Linked DNA regions of Homo sapiens: all the other regions are linked to region 3. The links are contacts of gene promoters, found by promoter capture Hi-C in blood cells and fetal thymus (Javierre and others, 2016). All regions are on one chromosome and are shown on one strand. The core of a region is centred on a gene start or on the middle of the fragment in contact, and the rest is flanking DNA. Distances in the headings are between cores, read along the strand shown. Region 1 holds the start of ATP13A3 (ATPase 13A3). Region 2 has its middle 5.8 kb from the start of FAM43A. Region 3 holds the start of XXYLT1 (xyloside xylosyltransferase 1). Region 4 holds the start of TMEM44-AS1 (TMEM44 antisense RNA 1). Region 5 overlaps LSG1 (large 60S subunit nuclear export GTPase 1).

Region 1 (3,025 bases), core at 49-2,548, 780 kb before region 3:
TGATTTTTGGCAACTGTAGTCTATTAAGCAAAGCAACAAACCTCTAGAGAAAATAATGTCACATATATTCCAGTGAAACAAAATTAATACATGTACCTTGGTAAAGAGGCTGAGCTCTAACCAAAGATAGAGCACTGTTCATTACGTACTCACCCTTCAAAGGAATCAAATCGAAACACTTTCATTTTAACAACGATACTTTTTAAAGGCTTTATTTTGCAATAATCTTTCAAGTCCCTGCATTTCTTAGATTCCTTAAATTCTAACTTCCTGCCTCATAGATCTAAAGTAGCCATGACATACCCAGGTATGTTCTACTCATTTAGTTAGAATCGTATAGAGGAACACAAGTCTGTTTCTAGGTGTACGACTCCACACCCATTCATTTTGCACTAATATAACCACTAAATATAGCTCTAAGACACTGATGATTAAAAGCGGCTAATTATGTGAGTGATTCATACCTCCTATGTCCAAACACCAAGATTCAGGGATGTCTGTCAGATCTATGGGAAGAGGAAACAATAAACACCTGTCACAAAGCTTCTTCCACACCGGGAAGCCCCCAGCTGAGTTCCTGCCAATCCCAACCCGATTCCCTCCCCCTTCATCCCTACCCCTCACCTCCCCAAAAAAGCCAGAGGTCATACTTCCACCAGAACCTGACTCTGTGAAGGGAATGGAGAGACAGAAAGGCCATAGCGAGAGTGGCCACGAGAGCACTGCTAGGGCAAAGGGCCCTGGGTTTTTCTAGTCCTCACTGCCACAGAGTCCGAGTGGGAGGCCTCAGGCAAGTCAGAAGTCACTTTTCCTCCACGGGACTCACTCCTTTTATCTGTGAAATGCGGAGATGGCAAGCAGCTCCATACTCCACGGCTGAGGACGAGCTAGGGTCCCGCACAGACTCATCGAGGGCCCTGCCAGCACCCCTACGCCTCTGCCCACAGGACCTCCACCTCCCACAGGACTTTCCGAAAGCTCTGACTACCAACCACCAAGCGCCCGGCCCCCACGCTCGCCCCCGGCAGGCGGCGCGTCCCCCCCAGGCCTTCGCACCCACCGCGTGGGCTCCTGCCCTGGCCTCACCTGCCCCCGACACTCCCCGTCCCCGCGATGCCCAACTCCGGCCCGAGAAGGCTGGCCGCGACCTCGCCCGGTACCCGCCGCCCCGACACCACCATTCGCCTCCTCGACCTCCCCCGGCGCCGCTGCCCACCCGCCCCTCGCCCCGCTCACCGGGGCCGCTCACTGGCCGCCGCCGCGCCGCCTCCTCCGCGGCCTCCCTCGCGGCCGGACCAGCCCCAGGGACCGCGGGGGACCCGGCCGCCGCTGTCGCCGCCGCCGCCTCGCCTCAGCCCAGCCCCATCGCCCTCGGCCGGCGCCGCGCGCTGCGGCTCAGGGTGAGGGAAGGAGGCGCCGCGGCGGGGCCGGGCCGGCCCTGGGACGTCCGCGCTCTCCTCCTCCTCCGCGCCCGCGGCGGCGGCGTGCAGCCGGCAGGGCGAGAACAAGGGAGGGCGGCGGGAGGTGGGCAGGGGAGGGGGGCGGTCTGCACTCCGAAACGGCCCCCCCGCCGCCAGCGACGTAGAGAACCCCCCTCCCCTCCGCGGCGGCGCCCGATCACGCTGCGGGGAGAGCCGGCAGGCAGGCGGGGGAGCGCGCGCGGGCTCAGGACTCCCGCGCCGGATGTGAGGTCACGTGGTGGCTTCATCCCCGCGCGGAGGGCGGAGGGGCGCGGGCGACGTCAGGAGGCGGGGAAGGGGCGGGGAGGGGCGGGGCGATTTATAGGCCCCGCCCACCCATCGCCTTTGCCACCCTCGAACGGGCAAAAGAAAGAAAGAGGCAGGTAAGGGGAGGCGAGGCCGTCCAAAAACGCTGGGTGTCAGCCCGGGGTGGCTAATGGAGGGCGGCTTTTCTGGTGGGATGAAATGGAACGGCAAATCCCACTTCATCCCCTTTGGGCTATGACAACATCATAGTCCAATCTCCCATTTTATGAACAGGGAAACTGAGGCTCAGTGACTAGACAGACGTTGCCCAGAGTCATGGTCATGGAGGAAGCTTGTGCTAGAATGGTGGAGAGGAAACCAGAGCCCAGCTCCTAATGCAAGGCTCTTTCATTCCTTTAGCCACCCTCGCCCCCGCCAAAACAAACAGACAAAAAACTGTCATTCTCATATGACCACGGACTCTGCGCCCCGGCCGCAGGCGGAGGACAGGGAGGAGCGCACACGAGAAAGCTCCCACGCGCCCGCGCCTCGCCTCCGACGGGAAGGCGCCTCTTCCGACCGTCCTGGATGCAAATTAAATACTTCCCTCCGCAGAAGACTTATCTCGGGGTAGGGCCGCAGCCGGATTTCCAAATCGCGGGTTTGATTTTCGCTGCGTCCTCTCCGCGACGCGCGCAGGGAGCGCGCCCGGCCACCTGCAGCCTCTGGCTGCGGCCATCTTTCCGCCTGGGGCCACCTGGCCTGCGCCCTTTGTGCCCGGCCCGCTCCGTGACTGTTCTTCTTGCCGCTACTTACAGAACTCAGCCGCCTTAGCGTCTTAGAGAAGAGGACGGCATGCATGCGGACCCCGTCCACCACACCTGGAGAGCAGGGAGCCCTTAGTCCCTGGACACTTACCAGGGCCGCCACCCCTGGTCCACGCACGTGATGACATCTCACCAGGGGCAGCACACCGCCCGAGTCCGCGACACTGATAACACCTCCTGCGGGCAGGAGGGCGCCACAGCCACCCCTGGTCCCCTAGATTGTGTGAGGCTAGCATTTCTGCCCGCCTCTTGGCGTGGACAGCACGCTGGACCGAGATGGAACCACAGCTTTCTCTTCCCAATCCCTGGCCTCACCGTTTTGTTTCATACCTCACCGTTTGTTTCAAACCTCGTGGTGTTGAAATGATTAAATGAGATTAAGGGGTGTGTGGTAGTGTTGGGCAAACCACAAGAAAACGGTCTGGGTGGGGTCTGGCCCTAAAATCTTCCTCCCCCACCTCCCAGGCTTCCTTGCCTTGCTGCTTCCTCTCA
Region 2 (3,258 bases), core at 402-2,901, 580 kb before region 3:
TTCCTAATTAACAGGAATGGTTCAGGCATAGAACTATCTTTAAAAAAGAAAAGCAAAGGGGGCGAGTGGAAAATATGTGTGTGTGTGTGTGTGTGTGTGTGTGTGTGTATATATATATATATTTTTTTTTTTTTTTTGAGACGGAGTTTCACTCTTGTCACCCAGGCTGGAGTGCAATGGTGCAATCTCAGCTCACCGCAACCTCCACCTCCCGGGTTCAAGCGATTCTCCTGCCTCAGCCTCCCAAGTAGCTGGGATTACAGGCATGCGCCACCACGCCGGGCTAATTTTGTATTTTTAGTAGAGATGGGGTTTCTCCATGTTGGTCAGGCTGGTTTCAAACTCCCGACCTCAGGTGATCTGCCCACCTTAGCCTACCAAAGTGCTGGCATTACAGGCGTGAGCCACTGTACCCAGCTGAGTGGAAAACATTTAAAAAAAATTCAGTCTTAAGGGCCTTAGGACGTCCAGGCCTTTGAATCTATTATATTTTGGCTTGGTTGTGCGTCCCGATCCCTCTCCCTGAATACCTCAGATACACATCATTGAATGACATTAAAAACCCCAGCTAGAGAGAGGTCAGGAAAGTCCAGTCTCAGCCCAGCCACCCATCCCAGCCCTTCCACACCAGTGTGCTCACCTGATAAGCAGACGGCTGTGTGGGCCATCACTAGCCTGCGTGACTAGATTTCACATTTGAAATTATTCCCATGCATAGCCAAGTTCCTCTGCTGTTTGAAACTGATGAAGAGATGAGACAGAGTGAAGATAATATGGCTAATACTTGGGAGACAGGGCAGGGTCTGTGTGTCTTCATTCTTATCTAGTTTAAGTGTCCTGTGAGAATGCCAATGTTGGCTTTCATCTGTGACTGACAGGCATGTGGTGGTTGGTCCAAAAGTTCAGGCAAATAGTGTTGAAACCAACACCATCAATAAATATAAAGCAGCCATCTCTTTAAAGTCTGATATTTCCTCTCATGTGATTTATAAATAGGAAGGGGGGCTTGAAGGTTGAGGAGGAGGAAGAAGAAAATAAGCAGGCTGGAAAGAGCCAGCTCCCTTCCTCCTCCGTCTGTGCCCTCCCCATCTCTCCTTCCTCCCCTCTGCTTTTTGGCATCGATCCCCACTGCACCTCAGAGCTCTGACTGATGTAATTCTAGAAGAGATGTGAAGGTGACACGTGATTCACCTCTTCTGACTTCTCAGTCTTCCAGGGATGATATCACTAGAGTAAGAAGAGATGTTTTGAATGAAAATAAAAGAAAGACCCTAAAACTACTTTGCTCCTGGAGCTCAGAGGGAAAAGAATGGAGCGACAAAAGCAAAGCTAAGTCATTAGATAAAATACACCTTCCAGAAAACACCTGAAGTCTGGTTTACTCATCAAATTTAGCTTTTCTTTCCTGCAAAGTGAGGCTCATGTTTCTCCATGACTTAACCTGATGGTACTTTAAATGCACTGAGACACTTTCCACGTTCTTTCCCAGCCTAGGTAATCCTCCGTGTTCAACAATGCAGCATCGACTGCATGAAAAACAGGGTGACTCCCGGCGGCACGCGGTCCTCCAGGGGTGGCAGCGTGAGTCTGGGAGGAGGCATTCATCGACTCCTCACAGCACAAACATCCCATGTTCACTTCTACCATTTGTCGCATATGTAAGCAGGAAGGTGGGAGGAATAAAATGGCATAAAATAAACAATAGTATTTCATACCCTCCCAACTATGACAGCTTCAGAGAACCCCCTCCACACACACGTGTGTGGACACACATGGTTTCCCTAAAGAAACACCTCTCACTGCCCCACAGTCAGCAGAACAGATTTTAACCAAATTAGAAAGGCTCTGTTATACTAAGAAAGCACAATTCCCTCCCAGGGGACAGAGCTGTTTTTGAGGGTTCTGCTTGTGAGTAGAGAGAGAACTGGTTGGAAGAATCTACCCCTGGCACCATACTGGAGATTTAAAAATCTCATTGTAGTTGCCAAGGATCACGAGAAACATAGAAATTCTATTAGGAGCAAGTTGCCGTCTTTTTAAACAGGATTTAGTAATTTAATAAGCAGAACTCTTTCCTCTGTGTGGTATGCATCAGTAGTCCCAGCATCTGCTGCTAAGTGATGCATGACAGAGCTAGAAATGTGCACGGACTGCTGGGGTAGGAGCCATGACTGACACATGGGGAACTACTCAGGGCTCCAGGCAGCCAGGAGGGTGCTAGGCCCAGGGCGCTCTGCACTCTCTGCTCCAGGCTTGTTGCACATGTCCACTGTCTTAGTCCGTTTCGTGTTGCTATAAAGAATACCTGAGGCTGGGTAATTTATTTATATTTATTGATTTATTTATTTTGAGACAGAGTTTCACTCTTGTTGCCCAGGCTAGAGTGCAATAGCATGACCTTGGCTCACCACAACCTCCATCTCCCGGGTTCAAGCGATTCTCCTGCCTCAGCCTCCCGAGTAGCTGGGAATATAGGTGCCCTCCACCTCACCCGGCTAATTTTGTGCTTTTTTTTTTTTTTAGTAGAAACAGGGTTTCACCATGTTGGTCAGGCTGGTCTTGAGCTCCTGACCTCAAGTGATCCACCCGCCTTGGCCTCCCGAAGTGCTGGGATTACAGGCATGAGCCACCATGCCTGGCAAGGCTGGGTAATTTATAAAGGAAAGAGGTTTATTTGGCTCAAGGTTCTGCAGGCTGTACAAGAAGTGTGGTGCCAGCTTCTGCTCTGGTGAGGCCTCAGGCTGCTTGCACTCATGGCGGGAGGTGAACTGGAGCAGGAATCAAATGGCAAGAGGAAGGAAGCAAGAGATAGGGAGAAGGGCAGTGCCAGGCTCTTTTGGACAACCTGCTCTCGAGTGAGAGAGAAATCACTCATTGCCTCCGTCTCCCCACAGGGAGAGCATTAACCTATTCATAAGGGATCCACCTCCATGACCCAAATACCTCCCATTAGGCCCCACCTCCAACACTGGGATCAAATTTCAAGAAGAGATTTGGGGGAACAAATATCCAAACTACAGCGGCCACACCTGGATCTGGCTTGACCAGTAGCCGGGGCCGTTTCTGTTCCTTCTGGCTCACCCCTGTTCGTAGGCCCAGTGTCCCCTAGACCAAACCCCCACTGCTTGCTCTAAAGCTCTTGTGACCCAGTTTGAGCGCCTTGACTAACCATCGTCTTGGTGGTTTGAATGGTGAGAAGATGGCCCTGGAACTTGGCACTCCTTCCTTCCTCTTTCTTGAGCTGCTCAGTGGTACCAG
Region 3 (3,175 bases), core at 233-2,732:
ATGCTTCCCCAACCAACATCAGTCTCCACCCTTTAATATTACCTACTACTCCTTAAAATCTGGCCTCGGATCCCCTCTGTACAACTATTAGGTCAAAATCAAATAAGCAATTTGACCTAGGCAATTCACACTATGTCAGAAACACATCTCAGACAAGGAGAGCCAGGCAGTGAAGACAGATGATAAACAGAGATGGAAGCTGTCATGGAGGCAGACTGGTCCAGCCTGGGACAAGGCGGCCAGCTGTGCTCTCCCCAGATCATATCTGTTCCTCTTGAGCTTTCTCTTCCTCATTCGGAGGAACTCCAGGCTTCTCTAAATGGGTTCATGACCCTTGGAGGAAGGGGAAAAAGGGACACAGAGAGGAGATAAGATGGTTCACAATGAGTTTGACCAGATCCTACTGAAATACCTTAAGAGCAATGAGAAGTGTCACTGCAACTTCAACACTTCCAGAGGCCTCACCAAGGCCCTCTCCAGTTGCTCAGGATGACTACTGGTGACCAGTCCCATCCTCAGAAGTCAAAAACTGAGGAACATAAACAGAGGTGCAGACTCTGAAGGCAGTGCTGAACCCTGCAACGTTAGCAAAATGGGGGCGCGCGGACTCTCCTGGGGGCTGCGCTTAACTGGGGGAGAGGAAAACGAGGCGGTCATTAAAAACGCAGCTCCACTCCTCAGCACCAGCTGAGGGCGTCTGGCTCCCGGACACGCCCCCGAACGAGCCCTCCCGCAGGTTGTGAACACTACATTGCAAGCGGGCAGCTCAGGGAAGATCCTACCCGCTAGTTCCCCGGATCCCCTCCGGGAGCGCAAACTGACCTCGCCTAGGATGGGGTGGGCCACCCACCGGGAGCCCCCAGCCGCGGCCCGCTCACCTTGCACTTGAAGCCAGCGGCGGGCGGCAGGAGCTCCCGCAGCAGGCCCTTGGCCACCTCGCGGCTGGCCTCCTCGCTCACGAAGTGAAGGTTAAGCACCTCGTGCGCCTCGAACTTGGCGAGGCGCAGCAGTGAGCGCAGCGCGACGCGGGCCTTGGCCTGCAGCGCGGCATTGTGCTCCGCCTTGGTGAACATCATCAGCAGGTGGTAGTCCACCGGCCCGGCACCGCCGCCCTCCAAGCTCTTGGCCTTCGCGCCGGGGGCTGGCGCCACGGAGCCCCGCGCTAGCTCCAGCGCGGGCGGCGAGGGCGCGGCGGGAGCCCCGGCGCGGGCCTCCTTCAGCCTCTTGGTGGCGCTGGAGAAGGTCTCCCGGCCTGAGCCGAGGTAGTAGAAGGCGCAGACGGCCAGCGCCGCGGCCAGCAGCAGGGCGCAGTAGTGGGAGCGCACAGCGCCCAGGCGCGCCATGGCCCGAGCGCATGGGAGCCCGCCTCGGAGGAGGCCCATGCGCTACGAGACCGCGGCGCCAGCGGTGCCAGCAACGCGGGAGAGCCCTCGGGTACCCGGACGCCGGCGGCCACTTAGCCCCGGCGCCAGGCGGCGGCCATGAAAGGGGCGGGGCCGCGCCGCCTGGAGCCAATCGCGGGCGCCGGTGCGCGGAGGGGCGGGGCCGGGCGTGCCGAAACCGCTGGGTCCTAGGTTCCAAGGGTATTAGAGGAGGGGTTAGGGTGGGATCCGGCGCCCGGCGTTGGGAGGGGGGGATTCCGGACTCCAGCGTGCTGAGGGCTGGCCCGCTGTCCCGGCTGAGAAATGGCGCCCTACGCGGCGAGCCCCAGAGGATATCCAAGCTGAGTGTTGAAGGGAATGGAGGCGCCCGAACAGAGGAACTTAGGTTAGCCAAAAGCGAAGCTGGAGGCACCAAGAGGTAAAACTTTAATCTCTGCACCTTTTTTCCCTCAATTTCTTGGAGGCTTTAAGCCGTCTCGGCCTCTCCCTGCACACGAGCTGCAGCTAGGCAATTTAAACCGGCAGCTCCTCCCTTTTCCCCCGCCCTGGGAGGAAATGGCCCGGGCCGCACGTCGCGCCGGAGGCCGAGCGGAGGGAGGCTGGAGGATGTGGCCAGCAGGGGGCCCCCGCCGCCCGCACGAACCTGCGAGGCTGCTCCCCGAGCCCCAGCACCGCAAAGCCCTGGAGGGCGACATTCATCCACTTTTGTTTTATAAACAGACTTTTAACACTTTATCAAGAGCCTCCTTGAGGGTACCAGGGAGTTTTGCACGCCGAGGTCACGTGCCCAAAGTCACACAGCTAGCCAGTAGCAATTTTGACCCTAGGCAGTTGCACACTGCTAACTAGATAAAAACGTACTAACTTCAGTCTTCTAAGAATTGAGGCTATACCAGTAGTTTTTAAGTAAACACGTGCAAGTGCTGTGCATGCTGTCTAAATAGACAAAGAACTTGAGTAAGTACAGTAACCCTTCAGTTCTTTGGCCAAGTTCTCTGATTTCTGACCAGAGATTAGGTAAACGGTTTTTCCTGTTATTTCCACATTGTAAGGTTGCATGGATTATCCAACCTCTCTGCTTCAGACCTTGGCTTACATGTCACTACCTACACAAATGATCTCTAAATACCTCCTATCCAGTGTCTGGGCTAAGTGCCATCCTCAATAATTCTGTGAGGGCCACCTAAATATATGTACTACCCTAGTCTCATCTTTCTTCATTGCAAGAACACGTGACTCCAAGAGAACAGAATATACATTTGTTTTTTATTAACCACAATATACCCAGTACCTAACACGGTGCCTACCACATTGGATGAGTCTCAAAAATATACTCAACCATTGAAACAGCATTTTTATTTCTAGAAAATCTTCCTAATAATTTAAGAATGTTCAAAATATTTAACCATAAGAATAAAGCAAGGCCAAGCATGGTGGCTTAGGCCGGGAATGGTGGCTCACGCCTGTAATCCTAGCACTTTGGGAGGCCGAGGAGGGCAGATCACCTTAGGCCAGGAGTTCGAGACCAGCCTGCCCAACATGGCGAAACCCCGTCTCTACTAAAAATACAAAAAATTAGCCAGACATGGTGGCGGGCGCCTGTAATCCCAGCTACTCAGGAGGCTGAGGCAGAAGAATCGCTTGAACCTGGGAGGTGGAGGTTGCAGTGAGCCGAGATCATAACACTGCACTCCAGCCTGGGCGACAAGAGCAAAACTCTGTCTCAAAAAAAAAAAAAAAGTAGGCAGTGTGGTGGCGGACACCTGCAATTCCAGCTACTCGAGAGGCTGAGG
Region 4 (2,967 bases), core at 468-2,967, 690 kb before region 3:
CTTGTTCCAGCTGTGGGTTTAGAGAATCCCTCAGATTTCCTCTGGAGATTCCAGGTGCCAAGACACCTGTAGGAGGAAGGCCGGAAGGGAAAGGTCAAGTCCGGAGCAGAGGCGTGGACCGCGGCAGGCTGCTGTTGGAGCGTGCTGGGCTCAGAAGCCGGGTTCTAGCTAGGAAACTGCGGAGTGGCCAAGGAGTTCCTGGCGCGAGGCACGCCACACAACCCTCGGATGCGAAGACGGTGACCATCCATTTCTCAATACGCCAGTGGCCCTGCCGTGCTACTGAGCCTCGTCAGCCTGTATAATGGAAGCTGAAGATGATGCAGCTCAGGAAAAGCAAGTATGATCTTAAGAACCCTGTAGCTGGAAAGCATGTTCCAAATCAAACCTAATGGAGACAACTACTAGAAGGTATAAAAGTTTTTTTTTTTTTTGAGACAGAATTTTGCTCCTGTTGCCTAGGCTGGAGTGCAGTGGCGCGGTCTCAGCTCACTGCAGCCTCTGCCTCGCCGGTTCAAACGATTCTCCTGCCTCAGCCTCCCAAGTAGCTGAGACTACAGGCGCCCACCACCACGCCCGGCTACTTTTTGTATTTTTGGTAGGGACGGGGTTTCACCATGTTGGCCAGACTGATCTCAAACTCCTGACCTCAGATGATCCGCCCGCCTCACCCTCCCAAAGTGTTGGGATTACAGGCGTGAGCCACCGCGCCCAGCCCAAAAGATTTTAAAAAGGAGTCTCTTGGAGGCAAAGGGACAGAACATTATTGTTTTTCATCATAAACCTTTTGGTGCAATCTGATTTTCTTTTTTTAAACCATGTACTTGCACTATTTTTATCTCAAAAAAGGTTTTTAATGCATTTAAAAACAAAGAAAAGAATGGTTTATAATACACCGTTAGGCTTCTGGGAGGTCTGAAACACACTATGAACCGTAAAATAACCTTGTAATTATCTCCTTAAAAACCGAGTGGGGTGGGCCAGGCGTGGTGGCTCACGCCTGTAATCCCAGCACTTTGGGAGGCCGAGGCGGGCGGATCACGAGGTCAGGAGTTCGAGACCAGCCTGACCAACATGGTGAAACTCCGTCTCCACTAAAAATACAAAAATTAGCCGGGCGTCGTGGCGCGCCCCTGTAGTCCCAGCTATTCAGTCGCAGAAGAATCGCTTGAATTCGGCAGGCGGAGGCTGCAGTCAGCAGAGACCGCGCCACTGCATTCCAGCCTGGGCGACAGAGACTCCGTCTCAAATAAACAAACCAAAACTGAACTACGGAGACGCCCTCGACAGTTCTTTCCCGGCTGCGTCGCCGCTGGCTGAGGTCAGAAACGCCGGCCTTCGGCTGCGGCGGCGGCTGCGGCGGCGGGGCGGGGCCGCGGGACTCTCGCTCCTCGCGGGAGGCGGTGGCTGCGGAGTGCGCACGCGCGGAACCGCAATTCCGTTCTTCCCGGAAGTGCCCTGCTGGTGCTGGGAGTAGGGCGCAAGATGTCGGCGGATGCAGCTCCGAGGAGGTAGGCAGTGGGAGCCGGCGTTCAGTCCGGCCCGTGCCAACAGTGGTTCCTCTCTCCCCCGTAGTTCGAGGAGACCACGCGCTGCCCCTCTGGCACGATCGTGGATGAACCCCCTGGCAACTGAAATGGGAAAGGCAGCGCCCCCGACTCTGGGGACTGGACCGAAGTCCACGGTAGTGACAGCTGCCAGACCCTGAGGAGAGGACGAGAAGACCCGAGGCCTCTGCTACGAACACTGGCAGCCGATGGAAAATTCAGACGGATTTGGGACAGTATGCAGAGTTCTCCAAGCGACAGATTAACAGAGGCTCTTGAAGAATAACTGCGTAATCACGTGTTCTGCTCAAAAGAAGGCCTGAATGCCCAGTGCCTTATTTGGCTTTCAGGGTTGGTGAAAGAAAAAGCAAAGTAGATGCTTTCTAATGCTAAGTCATTTAATGTAGCACCATTCCTTGAACTTCTTTCATCTCTAAGGTCGTCCCTTTCACCTGATGATGACCTTTGGGCCATCGTACAGGCATGTGTAAACTTGGAGATCTTCCTCAACATTGCACCATATCTTGGGTTCATTCAAGGCAGAGTCTCCTTGCAAAAGCATTCTAAAACAATGTAAAGTCGAAGAGAGTAGAGCAATACCTCCATAGTTGGAAAATGTGGAGGAGGCCAATTAAGGGACAGAAAAAGAAGTGCAGAGAATCTTGGAATTGTTGCAAAATTATTCTGGAGATATTTCTAAGTCTCCTCTATCCTTTTCCTTAGTGATTAATACAGGTTTTTATATTAAGTGGACAGTAAAATCCAAACAGAAAGAGGTATATGTCGTATAATGAAGCCTATGTTCAAAGTATATCTGAAATTTGTTTTTATAATGTCTTTCTTGAGAGCTTATAAAGATGTCAGTATTCTGTGGGAAACAAATTGGCACATGCATAAAAGAGAAAAAATGAAAAAAATCAGGCCCAACTTTCAGTTTACAGATGAGGAAACTGTGACATAGAAAAGGAAATGACAAAGATCACACTGAATCAGACCTGGGAACTGGAGCCCAGCCATGCTCCTTGGCCCAGTGCCTCTTCTTATTCTAGGAGCTCATACCCCTTTGAAAGAAACATAATATGAATGTGTCTTCAAATGATGCTCATAAATCTCTTCATCATACTGAGGGAGGGAGATAAGGGGATTAGTTCTTCAGGATCTAGACAGGCTTTCAAGAAAATCTTTAGCTGGGTGCGGTGGCTCATTCGTGTAATCCCAGCGCTTTGGGAGGCTGAGGCAGGTGGATCACCTGAGGTCAGGAGTTCCAGATCAGGCTGGCCAACAGCGTCTCTACTAAAAATACAAAAATTAGCCAGGCATGGTGGCGGGAGCCTGTAATCCCAGCTACTCGGGAGGCTGAGGCAGGAGAATCGCTTGAACCTGGGAGGCGGAGGTTGCAGTGAAGTGAGATCGTGCCATT
Region 5 (3,215 bases), core at 1-2,500, 620 kb before region 3:
GTGTGACAAACACTCTCTCCTCTCCAAAGGAAGAGGATAGTTTTTGATTAATCTAAAAAGACTCAGTTGTTTTTTCCCTTTTAAACAAGGCCTTAAGCTCCCACGACTTTTCCATATGAATTCATTTAAAATAGTAATTTAAAATATATCTGAAACAGACTTTAAAGATGACACATTTTTACCCTGAAAAGATTACGCATTTGTGATTCTAATTTAGAGATAAAGCAAGGGGAGTCTCTGTTTCTAATGCCTACAGTTAGGCAGGATTACTTTTCCTCCTTTGTCTCATCTCCCATAGTTTGTCCAAATTTTCCTTAAGCCACTAACAATATTCTACCTTGTACTAGAGTTATTCAAGTACATGCCTCATGTGCCCCAACAGACTGATGCTTCGTAAAGGGCAGGAGCCATCTCTATTTATGCCCTATCCTCCACAGCACCTAACCTAAGGCTACCTGCAATAAATGATTCATGTCTCACTATTAATTTACAGAGAAACTTAAAAGGCCAGGCGTGGTGGCTCACGCCTGTAATCCCAGCATTTTGGGAGGTCGAGGCAGGCAGATTATCTGAGGTCAAGAGTTTGAGACCAGCCTGGCCAACATGGTGAAACCCCATCTCTACCAAAAAAAAAAAAAAAAAATTAACTGGGCATGGTGGTACATGCCTGTTAATCCCAGCTACTCGGGAGGCTGAGGCAGGAGAATTGCTTGAACCCAGGAGGTGGAGGTTGCAGTGAGCAGAGATTGCACCACTGTACTCCAGCCTGGGTGACAGAGCGAGACTCCATCTCAAAAACAAAAAAAAAAGCTATACACTTTTTCATATATATGTATCTATGAATAAGCTGTGGCCTTAAGTGTAGTTATGAAGGGAATTTTACTCTACTTACAAGCCAGCGGATTAGTGTGCCAATTTCATGAAGTCTCCTATTTTCTGCTAGTATCTACAAAACAATAATAGACTAACTTATTAGCTTATAAGTAGAGTAAAATCTCAGACCTTGCAGTTTTTTTTTTCTTTCATTTTCTTTTTTCTTAAAGGCAAGAGTCTCGCTTTGTGGCCCAGGCTGGAGGGCAGTGGCACCATCTCAGCTCACTGCAACCTCCGCCTCCCAGGTTCAAGAGATTATCGTGCCTCAGCCTCCCGAGTAGCTGGGACTACAGGTGTGCACCACCACGCCCAGCTAATTTTTGTATTTTTAGTAGAGACAGGGTTTCGCCATGTTGGCCAGGCTGGTCTCAAAACCTGGCCTTAAGTGATCCGCCTGCCACAGCCTCCCAAAGTGTTGGGGTTACAGGCATGAACCACCACACCTGGCCCCTGCATAGTTCTTAACAAATCCATCTTTGAGTCTTTTTTCCATGCTGGGCACTGTCCTAGATGCTTTATGTAAGTTAATTCATTATGCTGCTGAGAGGTAGCAGAGTTCCTAATTTACTGCTTACTAGCTATAAGAGCTTAGATAAATTATTTAACTTCTCTGTGCCTCAGTTTCCTCAAGTTTGAGGAAATGGGAATAACAGCAGTATCTGCCTTAAGCGTTGCTTTTTGAGGACTAAAAGGTATTTGGTAAGGGTTTAGAAAAGCACATAGCAAGTATTCAATATATGTTAGCTATACTGATTAAATATAATCAACCGTGAGATAGATTTTCCCCCACTTAGAGAAAAGGAAAGTATTTGGGAAGGTTAAGCAAGTTTTCCAAGGTCATTCAAACGGTTACATGGCATTGTTAAATAGGTTTGCAACTTGGAACTGAGTATCTGAAACCTGGATTCTCCCATTTCTTCAAGGCTACACTGCTGAAATCAGGAAATGAGGTTCTATTCTGAAGTTCTCATGCTATCTCACAGTATAAACTTGTGCAGATCACTAGTATTTTCAATTCTTCATCAAATCTGAATCCCTCAAATGCCCAAAATAAACCTGAAGCCCTAATATGCACGTAATAACTAGAGTGTTTCCAAAGCAGAAAGGATATTAGTGATACAGGAGGAACATGATCTCTCATCTGATCAATTGGGAGGATTCCGCTGCAAGTCATTTCTGCCTTGGTAGACACAAAAGATGGCATCACCAAGCCAGGACAGTCACACAGGCAGAGGCCAGGCTCCACATAGAGAGTCTGGAAGACAAGCAAGAGGTTTGAGCTGGGTATACAACAGATAAAAGGAAGAAAGAGCTGCATGCAAGTGGCAAAGCACCACAGAAATACCTGAAAGTGCTTTGTGTGACCAGGTGTGGCAGACACAGATACTTTCTTGTTGCCCATGATGGTGTTGATTGTTGAACTCTTACCAACATTAGGGTAGCCCACCTAGAAGAGACTCAGAAGTTACCAAACAGTAAAACAGTACATCTATCAAAAGACTCAAAGATATGACATAGATGGTGGCAAGACTAGCATAAGCATCTGGTTACTTTAGAAAATTATTTGAAATCCATGCTGTGTTTGTTGAGACATCTTTTTTCTCCTGTGGTGTGGGTATATTTATTCAGACACATCTCCAGTGACAAATGGCCAAGTTATGCACATTTTAATATTATATGTTTTGCTGTTAACAGCAGATGCTACAGAAAATTTCATCCCCTTGTTCCCAGCCTTCCCTCACTGCCCCATCTACAGACAGTGGTTTCCATCGCATCTTCCACACTGGGTGAGGCTGATCGGATGGACATTTGAATAATCACAACACACAATTATTTTTAATTTTCAGTCACGTTTTAGTTAAAGCCAAGTGGAATGTCTGGCATGTGGCAGGTGATCAATAAGTGTCTGCAGAATTTCTAGAGTAAGAAATTCAGAAAATGAGGGAGGATGCTCAGTTTTTCCATAAATGTGAGAAAACTTGTAGAGAAGCTGAACTTTCTGATACAAATTTTTAGCAACAATATAGAGAATGAAGCTTTAAAGCTCAGAGACATTAAGCAACTTTCCCCGTGTTCCTAACAAGTTAGTTCTACTGCTGAATTGGGAATTACACCTAGGTCTGTCTGATTCCACAGACAGCTCTTTTAACTACTGCACTAAAATAAGATGCTAATCTACTGTAGTCATTTTAAACAGGCATTTTGGGGCAGGGGGTTGGGGCAGAGAGAAGGGGGCTCAAAACTAACTAGGATTAGCTACACTTAGCATGTAACTGAAAAGCTGGGAGACTTTAAACATGCCATGACCTCCTTTCCCTCACTGTTATATTCTGGATAGGTCT

What was found. The method cuts DNA at HindIII sites, captures the fragments that hold promoters and counts their contacts. A CHiCAGO score of 5 or more calls a contact.
Region 1: a fragment that was not itself captured here is called in contact with the fragment with the promoter of XXYLT1 in region 3 in 1 of 17 cell types (neutrophils); the score reaches 5.3 in neutrophils.
Region 2: a contact is called between a fragment that was not itself captured here and the fragment with the promoter of XXYLT1 in region 3, in 12 of 17 cell types (activated CD4 T cells, naive CD4 T cells, naive B cells and 9 more). The highest score is 11.1, in activated CD4 T cells.
Region 4: the fragment with the promoter of TMEM44-AS1 here is called in contact with the fragment with the promoter of XXYLT1 in region 3 in 1 of 17 cell types (neutrophils); the score reaches 5.2 in neutrophils.
Region 5: a fragment that was not itself captured here is called in contact with the fragment with the promoter of XXYLT1 in region 3 in 4 of 17 cell types (total CD8 T cells, naive CD4 T cells, total B cells and 1 more); the score reaches 7.5 in total CD8 T cells.

What each region holds. Positions count from the first base shown.
Region 1 is chr3:194,485,330-194,488,354 of GRCh38, forward strand. It overlaps ATP13A3 (ATPase 13A3), which reads right to left and starts at 1,673. Exons shown (of 34, transcript NM_001367549.1): 1 at 1,237-1,673; 2 at 465-506. It overlaps ATP13A3-DT (ATP13A3 divergent transcript), which reads left to right and starts at 1,811. Exons shown (of 2, transcript NR_033929.1): 1 at 1,811-1,843; 2 at 2,127-3,025. RefSeq lists silencers at 913-972, 1,063-1,112, 1,143-1,802 and an enhancer at 2,473-2,692. The HindIII fragment of the contact is 1,515 bases long and covers 542-2,056 here.
Region 2 is chr3:194,690,036-194,693,293 of GRCh38, forward strand. No RefSeq gene overlaps it. Among named protein-coding and RNA genes, the nearest start is that of FAM43A, 5.8 kb to the left of the region's middle. The HindIII fragment of the contact is 8,231 bases long and covers 1-3,258 here.
Region 3 is chr3:195,269,677-195,272,851 of GRCh38, forward strand. It overlaps XXYLT1 (xyloside xylosyltransferase 1), which reads right to left and starts at 1,483. Exons shown (of 4, transcript NM_152531.5): 1 at 879-1,483. The coding sequence starts at 1,382. RefSeq lists an enhancer at 722-1,513 and silencers at 764-943, 1,104-1,633, 1,884-2,113. The HindIII fragment of the contact is 17,042 bases long and covers 1-3,175 here.
Region 4 is chr3:194,582,551-194,585,517 of GRCh38, forward strand. TMEM44-AS1 (TMEM44 antisense RNA 1) reads left to right here and starts at 1,718. Exons shown (of 3, transcript NR_047575.1): 1 at 1,718-1,898. RefSeq lists enhancers at 984-1,649, 1,685-1,734 and a silencer at 1,235-1,494. The HindIII fragment of the contact is 5,912 bases long and covers 1-2,967 here.
Region 5 is chr3:194,648,897-194,652,111 of GRCh38, forward strand. It overlaps LSG1 (large 60S subunit nuclear export GTPase 1), which reads right to left. Exons shown (of 14, transcript NM_018385.3): 9 at 2,219-2,320; 10 at 1,985-2,128. Among named protein-coding and RNA genes, the nearest start is that of TMEM44, 17 kb to the left of the region's middle. The HindIII fragment of the contact is 3,313 bases long and covers 1-2,907 here.